Regions from separate parts of the Homo sapiens genome. Here region 1 is linked to region 2. Evidence: promoter capture Hi-C in human tissues and cell types (Jung and others, 2019). All regions are on one chromosome and are shown on one strand. The core of a region is centred on a gene start or on the middle of the fragment in contact, and the rest is flanking DNA. Distances in the headings are between cores, read along the strand shown.

Region 1 (5,429 bases), core at 163-2,662, 140 kb after region 2:
CTACTAAATATACAAAAATTAGCCGGGTGTGGTGGCGGATGCCTGTAATCCCAGCTACTCGGGAGGCTGAGGCAAGAGAATCATTTGAACCCAGGAGGCGGAGGTTGCAGTGAGCCGAGATTGCACCACTGCACTCCAGCCTAGGCGGCAGAGTGAGACTCCGTCTCAAAAAAAAAAAAAAAAAAAAAAAGAAAGAAAAAAAATGGGCATGCAAGCACTTATAGGAGTTACACCCGCAAGGACCAATGCAGACAAGAGGTTAAATACACGCCTTCCAGTTTCTCCCTGGAAGGGGTTAGTCTGCACAATTTTCCAGTTACTGCTTAAGGATCAGGCTCCTATCTAGCCTGCATCTGGGAGCCAACAGGGCCGACAAACGATAGACCTCCAGGATTCTGAATGAGAGTTCAGGCACTTCCCAAGCCTTTCCCTCCACCTCACCCCAGTGATAAAACCAGCTCTGTAGATTCCTTTTAGAAGTAGTTTGTGCACCAAGTGCCACAACTTCTACAGCTCCCACCCGGAGGAGTGCCTCCTTAACCACCTAACTTTGGGAATTGGTGGGTCTCTGCATTTCTGAGTCTCCGTGGACGACAGAAAATAAAGAAGTGTACATTCAACAATCCAACTTCTAGTGACTATCAGAGGGTGCATTCTGCATGAAAATGCAGACACTTGTCACAGATCCTTCTTCTGACATAGTGCATAGAGAGTGGGAGATAAACTCTTGCTCTTAGCTTCACCCTGAGCAAAGAAGAAACTGGAACATATATTTAACACTCCAATCTTTCCAACTGCATCTAGTTTCTATCTTACCTATCTCAAGGCACTGACAGGACTTGGCACATTGTAAAATTCTACGGTGGGCAGTCGGGGGGCACTAAAATCAGAGACAGTGGTTTGGACAAACCAGGATTTAAGAGGCACCTCAGAATCTCTGGACCAATTGGTGAGGGCCTTCTCCTACACTGACAGAACTGGGAGTCTCACAGTCTGACAGAACTGGGAGAGGCTGCTGTCTTATGTAATGCACGGACACTAATACAGAGAAACAAAGGAAATAGAAAAACAGGGAAATGGGTTCCAAATAAAAGATCAAGATAAATCTGCAGAAACCAACCCTAGTGAAGTGGAGATGTATGATCTACCCAATGAGGAATTCAAAATAATGGTCATAAAGATGTTCACTAAGGTCAGGAGAAAAATGCATAAACAAATAATTTCAAAAAAGAGATAGAAAGTATTTCAAAAGCGGCCAATAGAAATTATAAAACTGAAGAATATAATAACTGAACTGAAAAATTCAGTAGAGGTGTTCAACAGCAGACCAGATTAAGTGAAAGAGAGAACCAGTGAGATTAAAGACATGTCATTGGAAATAATCCAATCCTAGAAGTAAAAAGAATGAAAAAGATAGCTTACAGGACTTCAACAAGCAGAACAATATATTCAGAATTGGTAGACCAGGAGGAAGAGAGGGAGAAAGGGACACAAAACATATTCAAAGAAATGATGGGGAAAAACCTCCCAAGCTTAGGGAAATAAATTGAAATCAAGATTCAGGAAACTCAGATGACACCAAATAGGAAAAATCCAGAGACACACATTTGAGACATATTATAATCAAATTGTTAAAAATTTAGACAAAGAGAGAATTTTGAAAGCAACAAGGGACAGCAAATAGTTACACAAAAGGGATGCCCACCGTGTAAGATATCCATGGATTTTCTTTTTCCAGAAACTTTATAGGCCAGGAAGGAGCTGGATGATATATTCAAAATCCTAAAAGAAAAAAAAATTACTGCCCAAGAATACCATACCTAGTAATACTATCTTTCAAAAATGAAGGCAAGAATAAGACTTTCTCAAACAAACAAAAGTCGAGGAAGGATATCACCATTAGATGTGCCTTACAAGAAATTCTAGGAATTCTTCAAGCTGGATTAAAAGGATACTAATTGATAGGATAAAAATACAAAAATAAAAAACTTACTGGTAAAAGTAAGTACATTGTCAGATTCAAACTAGTAATCAGGCAATGGTCTTCTGTAAAACAATTCTATCTCTAGTACAAAGGTTAAAAGATAAAGCAATTAAAAACAACCATAGCTACAATAATCTGTTGAGAGATACAAATGATGAAATGATATAAATTGTGACATCAAAAGCATAAAATATGAGGTGGGGGAGTAGAAATGTAGAGTTTATTTATGCAATCAAAATTAAGCTTTTATCAGCTTAAAAATAGCTGGTTATAAACATAAGATGTTTTCTGCAAGCCTCAAGTAACCACAAAGCAAAAATCTGTAGTAGATACACAAAAGATAAGAAGAAAATAGTCAAAGCATATCACTATAGACAAGCGTCAAACCATCTAAGATCAAGAACAAGACAAGGATGCCCACTCTCACCACTTCCATTCAACGTAGTACTACTGTCAGTCTTAGCTAGAGTAATTAGGCAAGAGCAAGAAATAAAAGGCATCCAGATTGGAAAGGAGGAAATAATACGGTTCCTGTTTGCAGATGACATGATATTACGTACAGAAAACCATAAAGACTACATCAAAACTACTAGAACTGATAAATAATTGCATTGAGGGAATTGTTTTGTACCCGTTTATGGTGGGAGTTACATAAAATATAATATATACTACAATAAATATAATAAATATACTCTATATTATAAATATAATATATATAATACATATAATAGCATTATATTTCATAGATCTGTACACCAAAGGAAAAGAAGTCTATTTTACATATGATGATTTTGAAAAATAAAAGAACGGAAAGTAGTATGGAGACTTCTGTTTAATGATAGTAGATGCGTGTCATTTTTATTATACTCTCCTCTTTTGAAACTAGCCAAGAATAACAATGGAACAAAAAAGAAAATTCCAAAATTAGTGCAGCAGGGAAATTGCCATGAGCACCATCACATCCTGAATCTTAGCTTTGAACAACTTGTCTGCAACAAATGAAGAGAATGCAGAGACCCCAGATATGCCTTTCGAGGCCTTTGGTAGGTCACATATTTCTCCAAATTCATGTCAGACCCAACAGTGCATGATTAAAACAGTGAGCAACCAATGCAAGGAGGTGTCTGAGAAGGTGCTCCTGCCACGGTCATGAGGACACATGTGTCAGCTCCTCAACTGTTCCAAAAAGCATGAGAGATGTGAAGCAGAGCCACACAAGACCTTCAGGAAGGCAGGACCACTCCACCCACCCCACCTGCAACAGGCCACTCATCCCAGCCTAGTCTGGATTAGGAGAGAGTTCTGGGAGTTTCCTTGCACAGAAATAACTGATACCATGTTTATGAATTAGAGCAGTCATTGTTGCAACATATCCGTTCTCCACAAATTGATCTATAGATTGAGTGCGATTCCAGACATTTCAGTAGTTTTTGGTAGAAATGGACAAGATGACTTTAAAATGTAGGTAGAAATGCAAAGGGCCAAGAATATCCCCTAGGAGAGGAACAAAGTTGGAAGAGTTACACTATCAGATATCAAGAGTAATTTTTAAAATGTTCTAAATAAGACAGTGTGGGATTGGTGCAAGGAGGGACAAATAAACCAATGGAGCCACACAAAGTGCAGACTCACACATGCATAGAAGCTTGACTTATGACTTGTGCTTACCTTACGTTACAGCAATTTCACTTTTAGATATATAAACAACAGAGGTAAGCAACGCAGGTGCATTAAAAGGCAGGCACTGAAATTTCATGACAGCATTATTTGCATAGTGAAAAAGTAGAAAAAACAGTATTGTTTGGGGTATAATTGATGCATCATGCTATACTCACAGAGTGGAATAATATATAGCAGTGAAAAAGAATGAACTACTTCTACAAATAACACAAACATGAAGTTAAGTTCACAAACATGAGTGAATCACACAAACATGAAGCTAAGTAAAAGAATTAAGACACAAAGAATGCATACTGTGTGATTCAGCGAATGTTACATAAAGTCTAAAAGTGGCCAGGACTATTCTGTGGTATTAAAAGGTAGGATAAACTCCCCTAGGACTAGGGGAGGAGTTGGTGACAGCCAGTGATGTTTTTCCGAGGGCGGGTGATGTTTCTACTCTGAAAGCCCTTCGGCATGGCCACACTCATGTTGTGATAACCCATCAGGCTATACACTTAGCATACTTTTCCTTATGTATTTGATAGTATTGAGATTACAACAGCTGCAGTATTTATAGATAAATGCACTAAACAGGACACAGAGAGGTAGTAGACAATTATAAAAGGCATAATTTATGAAGAAGATGTAACAGCCACAAATCTCTATTTACCAAAAACATGGAACTAAATATTTGAACTGAGATCTACTAGAAATAAAAAAAGAACTAGACCATAGTTCTATGACAGTGGCAACCTTCAAAACACAGTTTCAGAATTGGACAAATTTAGTACAAGAAGCAAATATGGAAAAAACTGAATAATGTAATCATTAAACTTACTTTTTAAACAGAAGATAACGTTTTGTTTGTGTGTTCATGTCCCAATTACAAAAATCAATTTTGTACTTGGGAACAAAGTAAACCTTATCAAATTATAAAAAGTAAACACTTTACAGTCCACATTCTTTGATCTTAAGTCAACAAAGTTAGAAATAGTTAAAAGGTAACTTCCCCAATCTTCATTAATTAGAAATTGAAATCAGATTACTGAAAAAAGTAAGAACTTTTGAAACTGATGTACACTGGTGATGTCCTCATATCTATTATTGGAAGTGCCTTATTGCCAGCTTTTCACATTGTGCTGTCATCATCATTTAACGGACTCTTTTGCAAATTGATCTAACTCTTGCAACATATTATCATTCGATTTCATACAAAGGTTATTCCCTGGCATGCACTTGAGGAGTCTGGGCTTTGTGGGAGTTGTTTCTGGGCATATATTAACCTACAAAATATACGACACAGAAGATTGTCCTTGTAAATAGAGTTTTAAGTTTAAAAAATACAAACTATGGAGTGTTAGACAGGACTCTATTTCCTAGGCTATGAATACAACTGACATATCTTCTGCATATGAAACATCCAAATGAGATAAATATATTAAAAGCACCACAACTTCCACATGATTTAAATCCAGAAAATAATTCCCCAGGTTTCTGAAATGCTTCTCACAGTCTTGGCAATTTCAAGATGCCACTGGAGTATTATAGGATGTCTCCATGCCATGATTGTCCTTAAAATCTCAGAAATAGATGCTAGAAAATTACTTTAAAAGATGTTGCATAAGTGGAAGTTACTGATTCTCTCCTTATCTAGTGCTCTGTGGAGGGACACAATCAAGGAGGAACTTCTGCCTCTGAAAATTACAGGCGATCCCACAGCATTCCTGGAGCTTGGAAGGGCTGGAAAGACAGGGTCTGCCGAAGACTGAGGCTAAATTAGAAC
Region 2 (3,435 bases), core at 936-3,435:
GGGGAGGCTGAGGCAGGAGAGTGGCATGAACCCAGGAGGTGGAGCTTGCAGTGAGCTGAGATCATGCCACTGCACTCCAGCCTGGGTGACAGAGTGAGACTCCGTCTCAAAAAAAAAGAAAAGAAAAAAAGAAAAATCCCCAGCACAGAACACAGCCCACAGCCGCTTTCCTTCTCCTAATATGCCTTGGTCAGCTCTTCCCAGGACACCACTCTGGAGACAGCCCTGGACTCTGCTGAGACAAGGCACCAGGAAACACCTTCTTTCAACAAATGCCAACAGGTGAGGGGGTGTAAGGCAGCTCCTTGCACTTGGTACCGCCCCAGTGCCAAGACCTCTGGCCAACTGGACGCAGGGTGGGGGATGTGAAAATCCTGGGTGTTCCTGCAGCATTAAGATCAGGCACAGGTCCGGAGCAGCAGGCCAGCCCGAAAATGGGAGACGCAGGCGCTTCTCGGTTGGCCTGCTGCACAGGACCTGCGCCTGCTGGGTGGACAGCAAGGTGGGAAGGAGACAAAGGACAATGGCGTTCCAGGGGTGAGAAGGTGAACCTGAAAAGACAAAGGTAGCCTGTGTGTTGGATGCTTGCCTCCGTTAGTGGCAGAGCAGGGATCATAGTCCCTGTGCTATGGGTTTCTTTTTTTTGGAGACCGAGTCTCACTCTATTGCCCAGGCTGGAGTGCAGTGGCGCAATCTTGGCTCACTGCGACCTCTGCCTACAGGGTTCAGGTGATTCTCCTGCCTCAGCCTCCCGAGTAGCTGGGACTACGGTCACACACCACCACACCTGGCTAATTTTTGTATTTTTAGTAGACATGGGGTTTCACCATGTTGGCCAAGGTGGTCTTGATGACCTCAGGTGATCCACCTGCCTCAGCCTCCCAAAGTGCTGGGATTATAGGCATTAGCCACTGTGCCCCGCCGTATCCTGTGGGTTTCTAGGGGTAACTGGAAGATCACAGGTGAAGTGTCTGGCAGCAGTGCCCGCCATGCAAGATCCAGGAAAGGGCTGCTGTCAGGGTGGAGAAGCCGAAGGCCAAGGAGAGCATGGAGATGAAACCAACACAACTCAGTGGTCCACTGCTACACAGGGTGAGGGAGGAAGAGGAAGCAAGAGTTCTTCCCCAGCCCAAGGCATGGCCCAAGATTCCTCAGATACTAGAGCCGGTGATGGCCGCTCATGAGTGGGGCCCCGGGTGAGCCACGAGGGAGGAAGAGGGCAGCCCCCTGTGGCTGGGGAGGAGGTGTCAGCTTTTCCCTTAGGACCCTCTGAGGGGTGGCCCTGGTCAGGAGGCACCCAGGACAAAATGCACCTGCATCTCCTGTTCTCGGGCTGGCCGGCTGCACAGGAGCTACGCCTGCTCTTAGAGCCGAGGGAACACCCCGGATTTTTACAACCCCCACCCTGCGCCCAGTTGGCCAGAGGTCTTGGCACTGGGGCAGTACCAGCCAGCCGCCGGGCCTCCCGCAGGACGTGGCCTGGTGAGAGTGGCCTCCTGCAGAGCCAGGCAGGGGGTGGGGGTGCGGGCCAGGGTCAGGTGGGTGGTGTCGGTGCGGGGTGGCGGGTGGTGGGGGGGTGTTAAGCCTGGGTCAGGCTGTGGGTGCGGGTCAGGTGGGGGGTGCAGCACTAGGCGAGGGGGGTGTTGCAGGCCTGAGCCAGGCAGGGGCTGCGGGTCGGGGTCAGGTGGTAGGTGCGGGGTCAGGCAGGAGAGTGCGGAGTCAGGCCCTGGGGATGCGGGATCGGACGGAAGAGGGGTGCGGGGTCAGGCCGGGGGGTGCGGGGTCAGGTGGGGGGGTGCGGGGTCAGGCGGAGTGGGGTGCGGGTAGGGGTCAGGCCGGAGGGTGCGGGGTCAGGTGGGGGGGTGCGGGGTCAGGCGGGGGGGTGCGGGGTCAGGCGGAGTGGGGTGCGGGTAGGGGTCAGGTGAGGGTGCGGGGTCAGGCGGAAGAGGGGTGTGGGTTGGGGTCAGGTGGGGGATGCGGGGTCAGGTGGGAGGGGGGTGCGGTCTGGGATCTGGTCTGGGCGTGCAGGTCGGAGTCAGGAGGAGATTCGGGCCGCCAGCTCTCACCGCGCACTCACCCGAGGCGAAGGGACGCCAGGCGGGACAGCGAACCGGGGGCCTCAGCGGGCCGCGGACGCAGGACAGCAGGACACGCAGGGCGGCCATGGCTCTCTGGACTCCTCGCCCGGCCCCGCGGAGCCGCCCCCTCGCCTATAGCCTTTCAGGGCTCGCTCCGCCCACAGGCCAGCGCCGCGAGACCAGGCGGCCCTCGCGAGATCAGCCCGGGCAGAGTGAGCGGGTCGCTCTCCGCCAGGCCCCGCCCCCAGGCCCGAGCTGCCGCTCGCGGATCTAAGGCCGAGGGGCGTCCCCGGGACCCCGCCCTGGGCTGGGACCAGCGCCCTCCAGGCCCCGCCGCAGTCGCCCGCGCCCCCGCCCCCGCCCCAGCCCTCGGGGTCCCAGCTGGCCCCGGGGAGACCGCGCGGAGGCGGAGGCAACGGCGGCGCCTGCCGGGCTCTGCGCCGCCTCCCCCCGCCCGCCTGCCCGCCTGCCCGCCTGCCCGCCTGCCCGCCTGCCCGCCTGCCCGCCTGCCCGCCGGCGTCTGTAGCAGCGGACACAGCGCGCCCAGGCGCAGGGCCAGGCACGGTGGCAGCGGCGTGGGCACTGAACGCCACATTAGGAGGAGTTTTATTTTCATGCACACAAGACTTCAACAGATTTAAATAATAAAAATTTCATTCATTTAAGTTATTTTATTTATACCTTTTAAATATCTAGACAAGTATTGTGGAGCATCCATTTGTGTACTTGCCCGGATTCTGCAAACGCCAGGGTGGAGATAAAACCACCCTGGATAAAATGGAATGGAAAGCGAAACTGCTATTGTGACCGGTGGAGGGTGTCCAGGTTCTTGACGTCTTGAACAAAGAACTGGACAAAACGCACAAACAAAGCACGGAAAGAAGGAAGCAACAAAAGCGAGATTTATGGAAAACAAAAGTGTGGCCGGGCGCGGTGGCTCAGGCCTGTAATCCCAGCACTTTGGGAGGCCAAGGCGGGCAGATCACCTGACGTCAGGAGTTTGAGACCAGCCTGGGCAACATGGTGAAACCCCCCTCTCTACTAAAAACACAAAAATTAGCCGGGCGTGGTGGTGCACGCCTGTGGTCTTAGCTACTCGGGAGGCTGACGCAGGAGAATTGCTTGAATCCGGGAGGCGGAGGTTGCAGTGAGCCGAGATCGCACCACTGCCCTCCAGCCTGGGCGATAGAGCCAGACTTCGTCTCAAAAAAGAAACAAGAAAAGACAACGAAAATAACTCCACACTGTGGGAGCGGCTGAGCATAGCGGCTCAAGAGCCCCGTTACAGATTTTTTGGGGGGGTTAAATACCCTCTAGAGGTTTCCATTGGTTACTTGGTGTACGCCCTGTGTAAATG

The links. Contacts are between HindIII fragments. The study calls those that stand out against the background at their distance.
Region 1: a fragment that was not itself captured here is called in contact with the fragment with the promoter of ECHS1 in region 2 in 2 of the 25 tissues and cell types used here (H1 embryonic stem cells and IMR-90 fibroblasts).

The regions. Positions count from the first base shown.
Region 1 is chr10:133,507,508-133,512,936 of GRCh38, forward strand. It overlaps LOC105378575 (a long non-coding RNA gene), which reads right to left. Exons shown (of 5, transcript XR_946512.3): 4 at 1,706-1,782. Among named protein-coding and RNA genes, the nearest start is that of CYP2E1, 17 kb to the right of the region's middle. The HindIII fragment of the contact is 3,032 bases long and covers 1-2,928 here.
Region 2 is chr10:133,371,169-133,374,603 of GRCh38, forward strand. ECHS1 (enoyl-CoA hydratase, short chain 1) reads right to left here and starts at 2,186. Exons shown (of 8, transcript NM_004092.4): 1 at 2,078-2,186. The coding sequence starts at 2,165. It overlaps MIR3944 (microRNA 3944), which reads right to left and starts at 495; the gene lies at 388-495. RefSeq lists a silencer at 1,949-2,458 and an enhancer at 2,840-2,929. The HindIII fragment of the contact is 22,751 bases long and covers 1-3,435 here.